Linked DNA regions of Homo sapiens: regions 1 and 2 are each linked to region 3. Evidence: promoter capture Hi-C in human tissues and cell types (Jung and others, 2019). All regions are on one chromosome and are shown on one strand. The core of a region is centred on a gene start or on the middle of the fragment in contact, and the rest is flanking DNA. Distances in the headings are between cores, read along the strand shown. Region 1 holds the start of ZNF551 (zinc finger protein 551). Region 2 has its middle 7.5 kb from the start of ZNF671. Region 3 holds the start of ZNF814 (zinc finger protein 814).

Region 1 (4,568 bases), core at 803-3,302, 210 kb before region 3:
AATTAGCTAGGTTTGGCGACATGCGCCTGTAATCCCAGCTATTTGGGAGGCTGAGATGAGAGGATCACTTGAACCTGGGAGGCAGAGGTTGCAGTGAGCTGAGAACAGACCACCGCACTCCAGCCTGGGTGACAGGCTCAAAAAAATTTTAAAAAGATGTTTATTGTAACTTCTAAGGGAGGAATTAATATTTTTTTTTTTTTTTGCTGGCAACTTTGATTAATTTAAACATACAAAAATTAGCTGGGCATGGTGGTGTATGCTTGTAACCCCAGCTACTCAGGAGGCTGAGGCAGGAGAATCGCTTGAACCCGGGAGGCAGAGGTTGCAGTGAGCTGAGATCGCGCCACTGCACTCCACCCTGGGAGACAGAGCAAGACACTGTCTCAAGAACAAAAACAAAAAAGCCCAGGCGCAGTGGCTCACCTGAGGTCAGGAGTTCAAGACCAGCCTGGCCAACATGGTAAAACCCTCGCTCTACTGAAAATACAGAAATTAGCCGGGCATGGTGCTGGCGCCTGTAGTGCCAGCCACTTGGGAGGCTGAGGCAGAAGAATTGCTTGAACCTGGGAGGTGGAACTTGTGGTGAGCCAAGATCAAGCCATTGCACTCTAGCCTGGGCAACAGAGTGAGACTCCGTCTGGGAAAAAAAAAAAAAAAAAGAACTGATAAACAAATTCACCTGTGTAGCTGAATTCAAAGTCAACATGCAAAAGTCAACATGTAAAACTCATATGCCCTTCCATACACTAACAATGAAAAATCTGAAAAGGAAATTAAGAAAACAATATCATTTGCAATAGTAATGTATATGGTCAAATGATCTCAACAAGGCTACCAAGACCACTCAATGGGGAAACGATGATCTTTTCAGCAAATGATGCTGGGAAAATGAAATATTCACATGCTAAGGAATGAAGGTGAACCCTTACCTAACACCAAAAACACAAATGAACTCAAAATGGACTAAAAACCTAAACATAAGACCCAAAACTATAAAACACTTAAAAGAAAATATAGGGTGAAAGTTTTATGACATTGAATTTGGCCATAATTTCTTGGATTTGACACCAAATACACATGTGACAAAAGAAAAATAGACCAATTAGACTTCATGAAAATTAAAACTTTAGTATATCAAACAATAACAAAGTGAAAGAGGAACCTATTTAATGAGAACAAAATACAGGTTGAATATCCCTGAGCCAAAAATCTAAAATCCAAAATGCTCCAAAATCCAAATTTTTTTTTTCTTTTTTTTTTTTTGGAGACGGAGTCTCCCCCTGTCGCCCAGGCTGGAGTGCAATGGCGTGATCTCGACTCACTGCAACCTCTGCCTCCCAGGTTCAAACGATTCTCCTGCCTCAGCCTCCCAAGTACTGGGATTACAGGCGCTCGCCACCATGCCCGGCTAATTTTTGTATTTTTAGTAGAGACAGGGTTTCACCATGTTGGCCAGGCTGGTCTCGAACTCCTGATCGCGTGATCCACCCACCTTGGCCTCCCAAAGTGCTGGGATTACAGGCGTGAACCACTGCGCCCGGCCCGCCCGACTAATTTTTGTATTTTTAGTAGAGATGGGGTTCCGCCATGTTGGCCAGCCTGGTCTCGAACTTCTGACCTCAGGTGATCCGCCCGCCTCGGCCTTCTAAAGTGCTGGGATTACAGGCGTGAGCCACCGCGCCCAACCCCCTGAAATAATATTTGTTTGCCTCTAGGGGCACCCTGAGCTTCGTGGAGTCTGAAATAATGTCTCTAAACACTTAAGTGATCAGTTACGGAAAACACTTCCCAGAAATCTGGGAAAAGCCCCTTTAAGAAGGAGTAAATACCTCCTTCTCCCCTAGAGGCCGAAGTCGCCATTTCCCTGCACGGGGCACAGCACCTCAGAATACAAGTTCGCAGAGGTCAAAGCAGTGGACACACTCCGAAGAGCTCCGTGGAGTTTTGGAAACTACATTATCCAGAGTGCAGAGCGCAAAACGGCGGCGGAGTTGAGCCAATGACAGCCCAGGATAGCAACACTTCCGCGCACGCGCAGCGCGACGGGCCGGAACTTCCGGCGTCCTCCTCGTGGCGGTCATTTTGGCCTCTGTCCTGTTTGTCCAGCCCGCCAGTTTCTGCAGTGGAGGTCGCGACTGAGGGACGGGACAGAGAAGTCGCGAAAGTGGGCCAGAGGTTCTGCGACACCACCTCGGGTGAGCTGCGCCAGGCCCGGGATAGGGACTGTTGTGTTCGAATGCCCGCCCCGGTCGGCCGCCGCTCCCCGCCTAGTCCACGGAGCTCAATGGCGGCAGTCGCGCTGAGGGACTCGGCTCAGGTGAGTTGTGCGTCCTCCGGGTCTCGCCTACCTCCCCCAGCAGAAGCCTTAAGGCCCAGTGAGGGATGCCTGCTCACAGCCCTGCAGCCCAGGCCCCAGTACCCTGGACAAGAAGGCGCTTGTGGATTGGACCCGTTTGTGACGCCCAGTGTGTACGGAAATGTGACGGGCAGTTGACTGGCGCGTGCAGAACTTGGAGCTGCGACTAAGCTGGGGGGGATTCAGGAGCCTGGGGTCCGTCTCGGGTCTGCAGGAACATAGAGTGAGGCAGAGTTGCACCTGACGAATTTGACGATTCTGAGGACACTGGCAGCCTTCGAGATTTGTGAACAGATAGGGACACTGGGCTAGGATTTCCTAAAGCTATCCAAAAGTTGCTCAGGGGAAGAACAGGCTGAAGAGAGGTAATAGTAGTTAGGCATAGGAAGACTGAGTTCTTGTCCAAGCTCACGCAGCTGGTAAAGTCAGCACTGAGAACTGAGGTGCGGAGATAGTGCAGCCAGCCCAGGCCACCTGGCTCCAAAACTGGACCAGGGTCATTGGGCGACCTGAGCCTCGCCACTCGTCTAGCCTTGGGCCCTGAGACTTTGAGCAAATACAAAGCCCAGAGTCTTAAGTCCAGGTTAGATTATATGAAGCTGTTGGCAGCCGGGGGAAAGGAGATGTAGAAGGTTGTCCAAGGCAAAGTTACCAGTATATGCTAAGTTTGGAGAGGAGGCTAAGATAGTTCAGGAACCTACAATTATTTTCTTTTCATGAGAACAGGGAGCAGTGTAGTAGAAGTCAGACCCGGAATGGTTCCCTGAGAAGTTGAGTTGTCTATTCGTTACTTAATAGTAACAGTGGGAGGTTTGGAGTGGAAGAGGGAGGTGATCTGGTTCTGGTCTTATTAGGCTCCCTGTGGCTGCAGCATGGGAAGCCAACTGAAGGATGAGGTGGGGAGACCTGGGAGGAGACTACTGGGATAGGCCAGGTGAATGTGATAGAATGTGATAGGCCAAAATGGTGGCTGTGAAGATGCGAGAAGCAGTTGGATTCTGGATTCATTTTTTAAGTAGGGCTGCCTGAATTTTTAGTTTTGAGAAAGAGAGTGGAGTCAGGGATGACTGAAAGGTTTTATTTTGGCAGTTAGAAGTGTGGAAGCTCCATCAACTAAGATGGGGAAGTACATAGTAGGAGTAGTTTTCATTTGGGATATCAGAAGTTTTATTTTTGACCTGCTAAGAGTATGAGAGCTTTCAGAGAATGGTTCATGGGCTGCTGGAACTGTAGGTCAGGAACAGTGAGGAGAGATTCAGAATGGAGACTTTTCCAAAAGGTAGTGGACAATCTGTGGGCCGGGGTGGAGCTGTGGATCACATTTAGTAGAGGGGAAGCCTGCTCACAATGATAATAATAGTTGTCAAGGAAGGGGAGGGGAAGGTCAAGGACAGGTCTCCTGTGTGAGCCCCTGGTTGTGTGAGGTGTTGCAACACAGGTCTTGGACAGAAGTGTTCACGGTGAGGGTCGTACAGAGATTATGATCTAGCATGTGGCCAAGGCTTCTCAGGGGTGAGTAGACATGAGATGAATGTAGAGGCATAGGAGTTAGACAGGATGATGCTAGGACTGGTGCGTATTCACCTCTCTGCAGACTGACCAGGGTTTTATATTAACTCTTGGTGGGATCTGGGAAGTTTCAGTCAGGCTGTCACGTTATCTTAGGGGCATAATTGGCCATCTGTGGGACTCGATGGGCCCGGGGTAGAGAGCCACTGGGGTTGGACCTTGAATTAGTGGTAGTTGGAGAGAGGAAGGCTGTGACTGGTTGGGGGACAGCAATCACAGCCCAGAAGTGGAAGAGGCCTTGGTTATCTGAGATCCACAGGTGATTCTTGATGGGTGAGGTTGAAGCAAGGAATAGTCAGGTAGAAAGGCCTTCATGGTATGACTTGAGGCTGCCCCTAACTTTAGGTGCAGTTAGAGATCTGGGATAGTACTGAACCGTATTTGAATTTGCCAGCCACTCTCTGGGCCCCATATGCTGAGTAACCAGTTGGGAGGCCAAGGAGATGCTCATGGTATGAGGCAGGAAGTAAGCTGTGGCTGTGGGAGTGACACTGTGAGAGAAGTGTGGTAGAGTATTGTGCACATGGAGACAAGAATGTGAAGTGGTGGCTCCTTGGTGTTGAGGACACAAGGGTGAAGTATGAACCAAGACCCTTGGTTGTGTTTGGGAGCCATGGTCTGTTGTCTTCCAGGAGAGTTT
Region 2 (4,442 bases), core at 874-3,373, 150 kb before region 3:
AATACCATTTGACCCAGCCATCCCATTACTGGGTATATACCCAAAGGATTATAAATCATGCTGCTATAAAGACACATGCACGTGTATGTTTATTGTGGCACTATTCACAATAGCAAAAACTTGGAACCAACCCAAATGTCCAACAATGATAGACTGGATTAAGAAAATGTGGCACATATACACCATGGAATACTATGCAGCCATAAAAAATGATGAGTTCATGTCCTTTGTAGGGACATGGATGAAGCTGGAAACCATCATTCTCAGCAAACTATCACAAGGACAAAAAACCAAACACTGCATGTTCTCACTCATAGGTGGGAATTGAACAATGAGAACACATGGACACAGGAAGGGGAACATCACACACTGGGGCTTGTTGTGGGGTGGGGGGATGGGGGAGGGATAGCATTAGGTGATATAACTAATGCTAAATGATGAGTTACTGGGTGCAGCACACCAACATGGCACATGTATACATATGTAACAAACCTGCACGTTGTGCCCATGTACCCTAAAACTTAAAGTATAATAATAATTTTAAAAAAGTCTATTCAAAGGGATAATATCGAGAATTTCCCAAAGATATTAGGAAGGATTATCTTTCCAAGAGAAAGATATCAATATTCAAGTACAAGAAGGCCGTAGAATACCAAGCAGATTTAACCCAAAGAAGACTACCTCAAGACATTTAGTAATCAAATTACCAAAGGTCAAGGGTAAAGAAAGGATCCTAAAAGCAGCAAAAGAACAGAAACAACACACAAAGGAGCTCCAATATGCCTGGTAGAAGACTTCCCAGTATAAACCTTATAGGCCAGGAGAGAGTGGCATGATGGATTTAAAGTGCTGAAGGAAAAAACTTTTATCCTAGAATAGTGTATTTGCTGAAAGTATCCTTCAAACATGAAAGAGAAATAAAAACTCTTCTGGATGAACAAAAGCTGAAAGATTTTTGTCAACACCAGACTTGTCTTACAAGAAATGTTAAAGGGAGTTCTGCAATCTAAAAGGATGTTAATGAGCAACAAGAAATCATCTGAAGGCACGAAACTCACTGGTAATAGTAACTACACAGAAAAAAAAAACAATATAGTAGCAATGTAACTGTGATGTGTAAACTCATATCTTGAGTAGAAAGACTAAAATATGAACCTATCAAAAACAATTCCAACAAGTTTTCAAGACATAGACAGTACAATAAGATATACATAGAAACAAAAAATTTAAAAGCTGGGTGACATAGTTAAAGTGTAATGTTTTTATTAGTTTTTCTCTTGTTTGTTATTTGTTTATGGGATCAGTGTTGTCATCAGTTTAAAATAATGGGTTATAAGATATAGTTTACCATGGAAGCTTCATGGTAAACTAAATTCAAAAACCTACAACAGATACCAAAAAATTTTTTAAAAAGAAATTAAAATATACAACCAGAGAAAATCACCTTCACAATAAGGAAGACAGGAAGGAAGGAAAGAAGGAAGAGAAGACCACCAAACAACATGGCAGCAGTAAATCCTTACTTATTAATAAAACATTGAATATAAATGGACTAAAGTCTCCAATCAAAACACACAGAGTTGCTGAATGAATAAAAATAAAGACCCAATGCTCTATTGCATACAAGAAACACCCTTCACCTATAAAGACACACATAGATTAAAATAAAAGGATGGAAAAAGATATTTCATGCCACTGGAAACGACGAAATAGCAGGAATAACTACATGTATATCAGAAAAATAGATTTCAAGAGAAAAACTGTGAAAAGAGACAAAGTCATTATATATAATGCTAAAGGGATCAATTCAGCAAGAGGACATAATCTTTGTAAATATATATACACTCAACACTGGAGCACCCAGATATAAAAGTAAATATTATTAGAGCTAAAGAGACAGATAGAGTCTGACACAGTGATAGCTGAAGATGACAACACCCCACTTTCAGCATTGAACAGGCCTTCCAGACAGAAATGGACTTAATCTGCACTATAGAACAAATGGACCTAATAGATATTTATAGAACATTTCATCCAACAGCTTCAGAATACCTATTCTTCTCAGCACATGGATCATTCTCAAAGAAATACTATATGTTAGGCCATAAAATATGTCTTGAAACTTTTTTAAATTGAAATAATATCAAGTACCTTCTCTGACCACAAGGCAATAAAAGTAGAAATCAGTAACAAGTGGACTTTCAAAATGCTACAAACACATGGAAATTAAACAGTCGTCTTCTGAATGACCAGTGGGTCAATTAAGAAATTGAGAAGTTGGGCTGGGCATGATGGCTCACGACTGTAATCCCAGCACTTTGGGAGGTGGAGCCAGGCGGATCACGAGGTCAGGAGTTCAAGACCAGCCTGACCGACATGATGAAACCCTGTCTCTACTAAAAATACAAAAATTAGCCGGGCATGGTGGCACACACCTGTAATCCCAGCTACTCAGGAGGCTGAGGCAGGAGAATTGCTTAAACCCAGGAGGTGGAGGTTGCAGTGAGTGGAGATTGCGCCATTGCACTCCAGCTTGGGAGACAGAGTGAGACTCCATCTCAAAGAGAAAAAAAAAAAAGAAAGAAATTGAAAAGTTTTTTGAGGCCAGGCGCATTGGCTCATGCCTGTAATCCCAGCACTTTGGGAGGCCAAGGCAGGTGGATCACCTGAGGTCAGGAGTTCGAGACCAGCCTGATCAACAAGGTGAAACCATGTCTCTACTAAAAATACAAAAATTAGTCGGGCATGGTGGCGGGCGCCTGTAGTCCTAGCTACTCATGAGGCTGAGGAATTGCTTGAACCCAAGAAGGTGGAGGTGGCAGTGAGCCGAGACTGCGCCGCTGCACTCCAGCCTGGATGATGGAGCAAGACTCTGTCTCAAAAAAAAAAAAAAGAAAAGAAAAGTTTTTTGAAACAAATGATAATAGAAACACAGCATGCCAAAATCTGTGGGATACAGAAAAATAAGTACTAAGAAGAATGTTTATAGCTATAAGTGCCTACATTACAAAAGTAAAAAAAAAAACTTTAAATAAACAACCTAATAATGCATCTTAAAGAATTAGAGATGCTAGAGCAAACCAAACCCAAAGTGAGTAGAAGAAAATAAATAGCTGGGCGCAGTAGCTCACGCCTGCAGTCCCAACACTTTGGGAGGCTGAGGCAGGTGGATCACCGGAGGTCAGGAGTTCGAGACCAGCCTGACCAATAAGGTGAAATTCCATCTCTACTAAAAATATAAAAATTAGCCAGACGTAGTGGCAGGCACCTGTAGTCCCAGCTACTCAGGAGGCTGAGACAGGAGAATTGCTTGAACCCGGGAGGTGGAGGTTGCAGTGAGCCAAGATCACGCCACTGCACTCTAGCCTGGGCAACAGAACAAGACTCTGTCTCAAAAAAAAAAAAAAAAAAAGGAAAATAAAATAATAAAGATTAGAGCAGAAATAAATGAAACTGAAACAAAGAAAACAATACAAATGTGTTCAACAAAATGATTTTTTTTGTTTGTTTGTTTTTTGTTTGTTTTTTTTGAAATGGGGTCTTGCTCTTATCACCCAGGCTGGAGTGCAATGGCAGGATCTCTGTTCACTGCAACCTCTGCCTCCTGGGTTCAAGCAATTCTCCTGCCTCAGCCTCCCAAGTAGCTGGGATTACAGGCACCCACCACCATGCCCGGCTAATTTTTGTATTTTTAATACAGACGGGGCTTTGCCATGTTGGTCAGGCTGGTCTCGAACTCCTGACCTCGTGATCTGTCCACCTCGGCCTCCCAAAGTGCTGGGATTACAGGCGTGAGCCACCACGCCCGGCCGAGAAATTGGTTTTTTGAAAAGTAAACAAAATAAAAAATCCTTTAGCCAGACTAAGAAAGATAAACCAAATAAAATAGAAGTGAGAAAGAAGACTTTACAGCCAATACTGCAGAAATTCAAAGGATCATTAGAGGCTACTATGATCAACTGTATGCCAAAAATTGGAAATTATAGAAAAAATGGACAAATTCCTAGACACATATAACTTACCAAGATGAATTATGAGGAAATCCAAAACCTGAACTGACAAATAGCAAGCAATGAGATTGAGGCTGTAATAAAAATTTTCCCAGCAAAGAAAAGCCTGGGACCCAATGGCTTCACTACTGAATTTTACCAAACATTTAAAGAACTAACCCCAATCCTACTCGAACTATTCCCAAAAATAAGAGGAGGAGAAAATACTTCTAAATTCATCATACAAGGTTGGTATTACCCTGATACTAAAATAATTTTTTTTCTATTTCCATTTCAATAAGAAATAAGAAAAAGTAAAACAAAGACATATTTGAACCTAATATATTCTTCAGTGATATCATTCCTTTACTGTAAGGAATACTTTTTTTTTCTTTTTTCTTTTTTTTTGAGATGGAGTCTTGCTCTGTCACCAGGCTGGAGTGCAGTGGTGCG
Region 3 (4,263 bases), core at 1,229-3,728:
GGGTAAGATGCTTTGTTTAATAAACAAAAAAAAAAGACGGCCAGGCACGGTGGTTCACGCCTATAATCCCAGCACTTTCGGAGGCCGAGGCGAGCGGATTGCCTGAGCTTGGGAGTTCAAAAGCAGCCTAGGCAACATGGCGAAACCCCATCTCTACTAAAAATACAAAAAATTAGCCAGGTGTGGTGGCGGGTGCCTGTAATCCCAGCTACTCGGGAGGCTGAAACAAGAGAATCTCTTGAACCCGGGAGGCGGAGGTTGCAGTGAGCTGAGATCACACCACTGCACTCCAGGCTGGGTGACAGACTGAGACGCTGTCTCAGTAAAATAAATAAATAAATAAAATAGGCTGAGTGTGGTGGCTTATGCCTGTAATCCTAGCAAGTTGGGAGGCTGAGGCGGGCGGATCAGTTGAAGTCGGGAGTTTGAGACCAGCCTGACCAACATGGAGAAACCCCGTCTCTACTAAACATACAAAAAATTAGCCGGGTGTGGTGGCGCATGCCTGTAATCCCAGCTACTGGGAGGCTGAGGCAGGAGAATCGCTTGAACCCGGGAGGCAGAGATTGCAGTGAGCCGAGATCACACCATTGTACTCCTGCCTGGGCAACAAGAGCGAAACTCCGTCTCAAGAAAACAAAACAAAATAAAAAATAAAGACTACATCTAACCAGGTAAGGTCACAAACAAGGAAACTCTTCCACTATCAGTTCTCACCAGAGTATTCTGTAACTGTAAAAGATTAGGCCTTCAGCAGCTCAAAACTCAGCATCTGCTGCCTAAGGCTCTGCCACCTCAAAGACTCTTCCTTGTAAGACTGCAGGCCAATTGCCCACCAACTGGCCCAGACCAAGATGCCTTTTGTCTTCCTTGCTCCCTCTAAACTGGTTCCATAACGTTTGCTCCTATATCTTTTTCCTCTTGATGCTAAGCATTATTTTGTTCCTTGTGTTGTAATGCCCAACCTTGTTTTCACTAATCCTGTTTTTAGACTCTCCCTTTTGCTCTCTTAATCACCTAGCCTCGTTTCCACATGAATAGACTCTCGCTTAGCTGAGAAAGCCAGACGAGCTCCACCTGGCCCCCTTGATTTACAAGACATTAAGGACTCCTTACCCACCCCCCTTTCCTCAAGGAGTTAACTTGTGTAAGCAGATTCTCAACATATCAAAGGAGTCCAATTAACTGATAAGGGACTGGGAACAAACCATGTATGAAGTTCCCAGGATTTTGCTCAAAAGATAACACCATAAAGCCTTGAGTTTGTGTCTGGCGTAGTGCCCATATCTAACTCTTATGAAGGATTTAGAGCGCCACACCTGGTACCTTGCCTTTTTGTAACCATTTGTCTTTTAAATTGTTTGTTTCTCTGTAACCATTTATCCTTTTAATTTTTTGCATGTTTTTACTTCTGAAGAGTTGTTGCATTTAAGCTCCCCTCCCCTTCCTAAACCAAAGTATAAAAGTTAATCAAGCCCCTTCCTCGGGGCCGAGAGAATTTTGAGCGTTAGCCGTCTCTTTGGCCGCCAGCTGAATAAAGGACTCTTAATTCGTCTCAAAGTGTGGCGTTTTTCTAACTCGCCCGGGTACAACAGTGTTATGTTTAACCTTTAACATTTACATGTTAAGTATACTATTGTGTATTGTTTGCTATATTGACTGACTTGGGGAGTGTCTTCAGCCTCTGTGCCCATGGCCAACTACCAAGTGAACTGGAATCACAAGAGAATTGCCTCCTTCGAACTCCATTTAGCTCATGGCTTTTGTTGACTCAAATATCACCTGACACTGTGCAAAGACACAAACATGCATGGACCTGATTATCTCTACCCTTACAATGCTCATGACATCCCTCCTTTCTTCGAAAATCTCCATGCCTTCTAGGGTCCTCACGTGAGTTCATAGCCCCCAGCCTGCTTGCTCTTCCAGGAGGAGCTCCGCCTCATAATTTGCTCCCAACAGGCACCTGTGGACCCCAGATTCCATCCTTCTGGCTCAGTTCACTTCCAGGCCTTTGCCCGCGCCAGTCCCTGTACCTGCCGGTCTCCCCACCGCATCCCACGGGTGTCAGAAATGGGGCCCCTCCCGCAAGCGCCTCAGTGTCCCAACGCCGGCGTCCGGGCTGCAGAGCCGTGAACAGGCGCTGCTACCTCGCTGCTTTTGGGTGACGATGAGGTGACCTGAGGACACAGAAGGCCCCACAATTACCTGAGCGGAGAGCCTCAGCGTAGCCGCGGCAGCCATCGAACCACGTGGTTTTAAGCAGAGTCGGGAGGATAGGGCGACCAGCCAGGAGATATGGGCACGACGGTCCGTATCCTGGCCCAGGAGTGGGTCACGCTGGGCGCCGTCACAGAGCTCCAGAGTAGCCTCTGTGCAGCGGAGGACAACTGCTCCCCGACTTCTGGGTTCAGTCACCACAGTGCGGACCTAGCGCTCAGGAGCCTCTCCTACAAATAAATCCAACACCAATCAAAATGGCCGCCACCAGAGGGCGCCGGAAGTCCGGACCCATTGTCACGTGCACACAGGAAACGCCTTTATTCTGAGCCCTCAGAGGTCTTCTACGCTATCATTCGAGGCTGAGTTTTCTGGGTAATGTAGTTCCCTAGGCAACAAGGAGGGTAAAGGGCGCAATTCCCAGAGGCGCTTCTGCAGGAAAAGCCCAGCTTCACCTCGGGAGTATCCTTAAGATGTGCGTCCTGACTGGTATGGTGGCTCCCGCCTGTAATTCCACCAGTTTGGGAGGCCAAGTCACAAGGATCATTTGAGGTCAGGAGTTAGAAATTAGCCTGAGCAACAAAGCAAAATCCTGTCTCTACAAAAAATAAAAAATATTAGCGGAGTGTGGTCGGGCGGGCCTGTGGTCCCAGCTGCCCTAAGGTTGGGGTTAGGGTTAGGGAGCCTGAGGAGGGAGAATCGCTTGAGCTCAGGAGTTCGAAGCTGCTGTAAGCCGAGATCGTACCACTGCATTCCAGCCTGGGCAACAGAACGAGACCTCTTATCTAAAAAATAAAAATAAGGGCCAGGTGCGGGCGGCTCACGCCCGTAATCCCAGCACTTTGGGAGGCCGAGGCAGGTGGAACACCTGAGGTCAGGAGTTCAAGACTGGCCTGGCCAACATGGTGAAACCCCGCCTCTACTAAAAATACAAAAATTAACCCACATGGTGACATGCGCCTGTAATCCCAGCTACTGGGGAGGCCGAGGCAGGAGAATCTCTTGTACATGGGAGTCAGAGGTTGCGGTGAGTGAGATCCTGCCACTGCACTCCAGCCTGGGTGACACAGCAAGACTCCATGTTGGAAAAAAAAATAAAAATAAAAATAAAAAAATAAATAAAAGATTGCAGATCTTTCTCCTAGGCAGAGGATCATCCTGCCTCTCCTTAGAACTCACATTGAGATTTCTTGGGGTTATTGGCTGTAACTGATTACCCTAGTGTATGGAAAAATATTATTTCAGAGTTAGTGTAGATGTTCCCAAAGGCTACAGATCCAAATTCACCTATCATTTCAGATGGTCCTTCAGATGCAAAATTCTTCCACTGGAAGCAAAGATTAATGCAAAGATTAATAACCATTATTGTATTGTTAAAATGAACGTGTAAACACCCAGAGGGTTCATTTTTCCTACTGCCCAGATAAAGCCAATTTATCAGGACAGGGAAATTGCAAAAGAAAAAGAGTTTTATTCACACAGAGTTGGATGAACAGCATACTGGAGTCTTACTAGTATTACTCAAATCAGTCTCCCTGAAAATTGCGAGACTGGGGTTTTTTGTTGTTGTTGTTGTTTATTTGTTTGTTTGTTTTCTGAGACAGAATTTTGCTCCTGTTGCCCAGGCTGAAGTGCAATGTCACGATCTCAGCTCACTGCAACCTCCGCCTCCTGAGACTGGGGTTTTTTAAGGATAATTTGGTAGATAGGGGGCCATGAATTGGGGAATGCTGATTGGTTGGGTTGGAGATGAAATCATAGGGAGTCAAAGTTGTTCTCTTGTGCTGAGTGGGTTCTGGGGGAGAGGGAGGCACAAGACCAGATAAGCCAGTTTACCCATCTGAGTGGTGCCATCAGATCCATCAAGTTCAGGGTCTGAAAAATATCTCCAGCACCAATCTTAGCTTTTGCAATGGTGATACCATCCCTAGGAACAACTGGGGATGTTTACAGTCTTGTGGCCCCTGGCTGCATGACTCCTAAATGATAATTTCTAATCTATGGGGCCCTAATAAATCAGTAAGTTAACAGGAATTGGGAAGG

Evidence for each region. The method cuts DNA at HindIII sites, captures the fragments that hold promoters and counts their contacts. A contact is called where the count stands out against the background at its distance.
Region 1: a contact is called between the fragment with the promoter of ZNF551 here and the fragment with the promoter of ZNF814 in region 3, in 1 of the 25 tissues and cell types used here (spleen).
Region 2: a contact is called between a fragment that was not itself captured here and the fragment with the promoter of ZNF814 in region 3, in 1 of the 25 tissues and cell types used here (liver).

Annotation. Positions count from the first base shown.
Region 1 is chr19:57,679,925-57,684,492 of GRCh38, forward strand. It overlaps ZNF551 (zinc finger protein 551), which reads left to right and starts at 2,053. Exons shown (of 3, transcript NM_138347.5): 1 at 2,053-2,320. The coding sequence starts at 2,240. RefSeq lists an enhancer at 1,745-2,368 and a silencer at 2,424-2,493. The HindIII fragment of the contact is 9,267 bases long and covers 1-4,568 here.
Region 2 is chr19:57,732,887-57,737,328 of GRCh38, forward strand. No RefSeq gene overlaps it. Among named protein-coding and RNA genes, the nearest start is that of ZNF671, 7.5 kb to the left of the region's middle. The HindIII fragment of the contact is 4,717 bases long and covers 1-4,442 here.
Region 3 is chr19:57,886,559-57,890,821 of GRCh38, forward strand. ZNF814 (zinc finger protein 814) reads right to left here and starts at 2,479. Exons shown (of 3, transcript NM_001144989.2): 1 at 2,209-2,479. The coding sequence starts at 2,244. RefSeq lists enhancers at 623-1,355, 1,380-1,923, 1,924-2,466, 2,140-2,189. The HindIII fragment of the contact is 24,676 bases long and covers 1-4,263 here.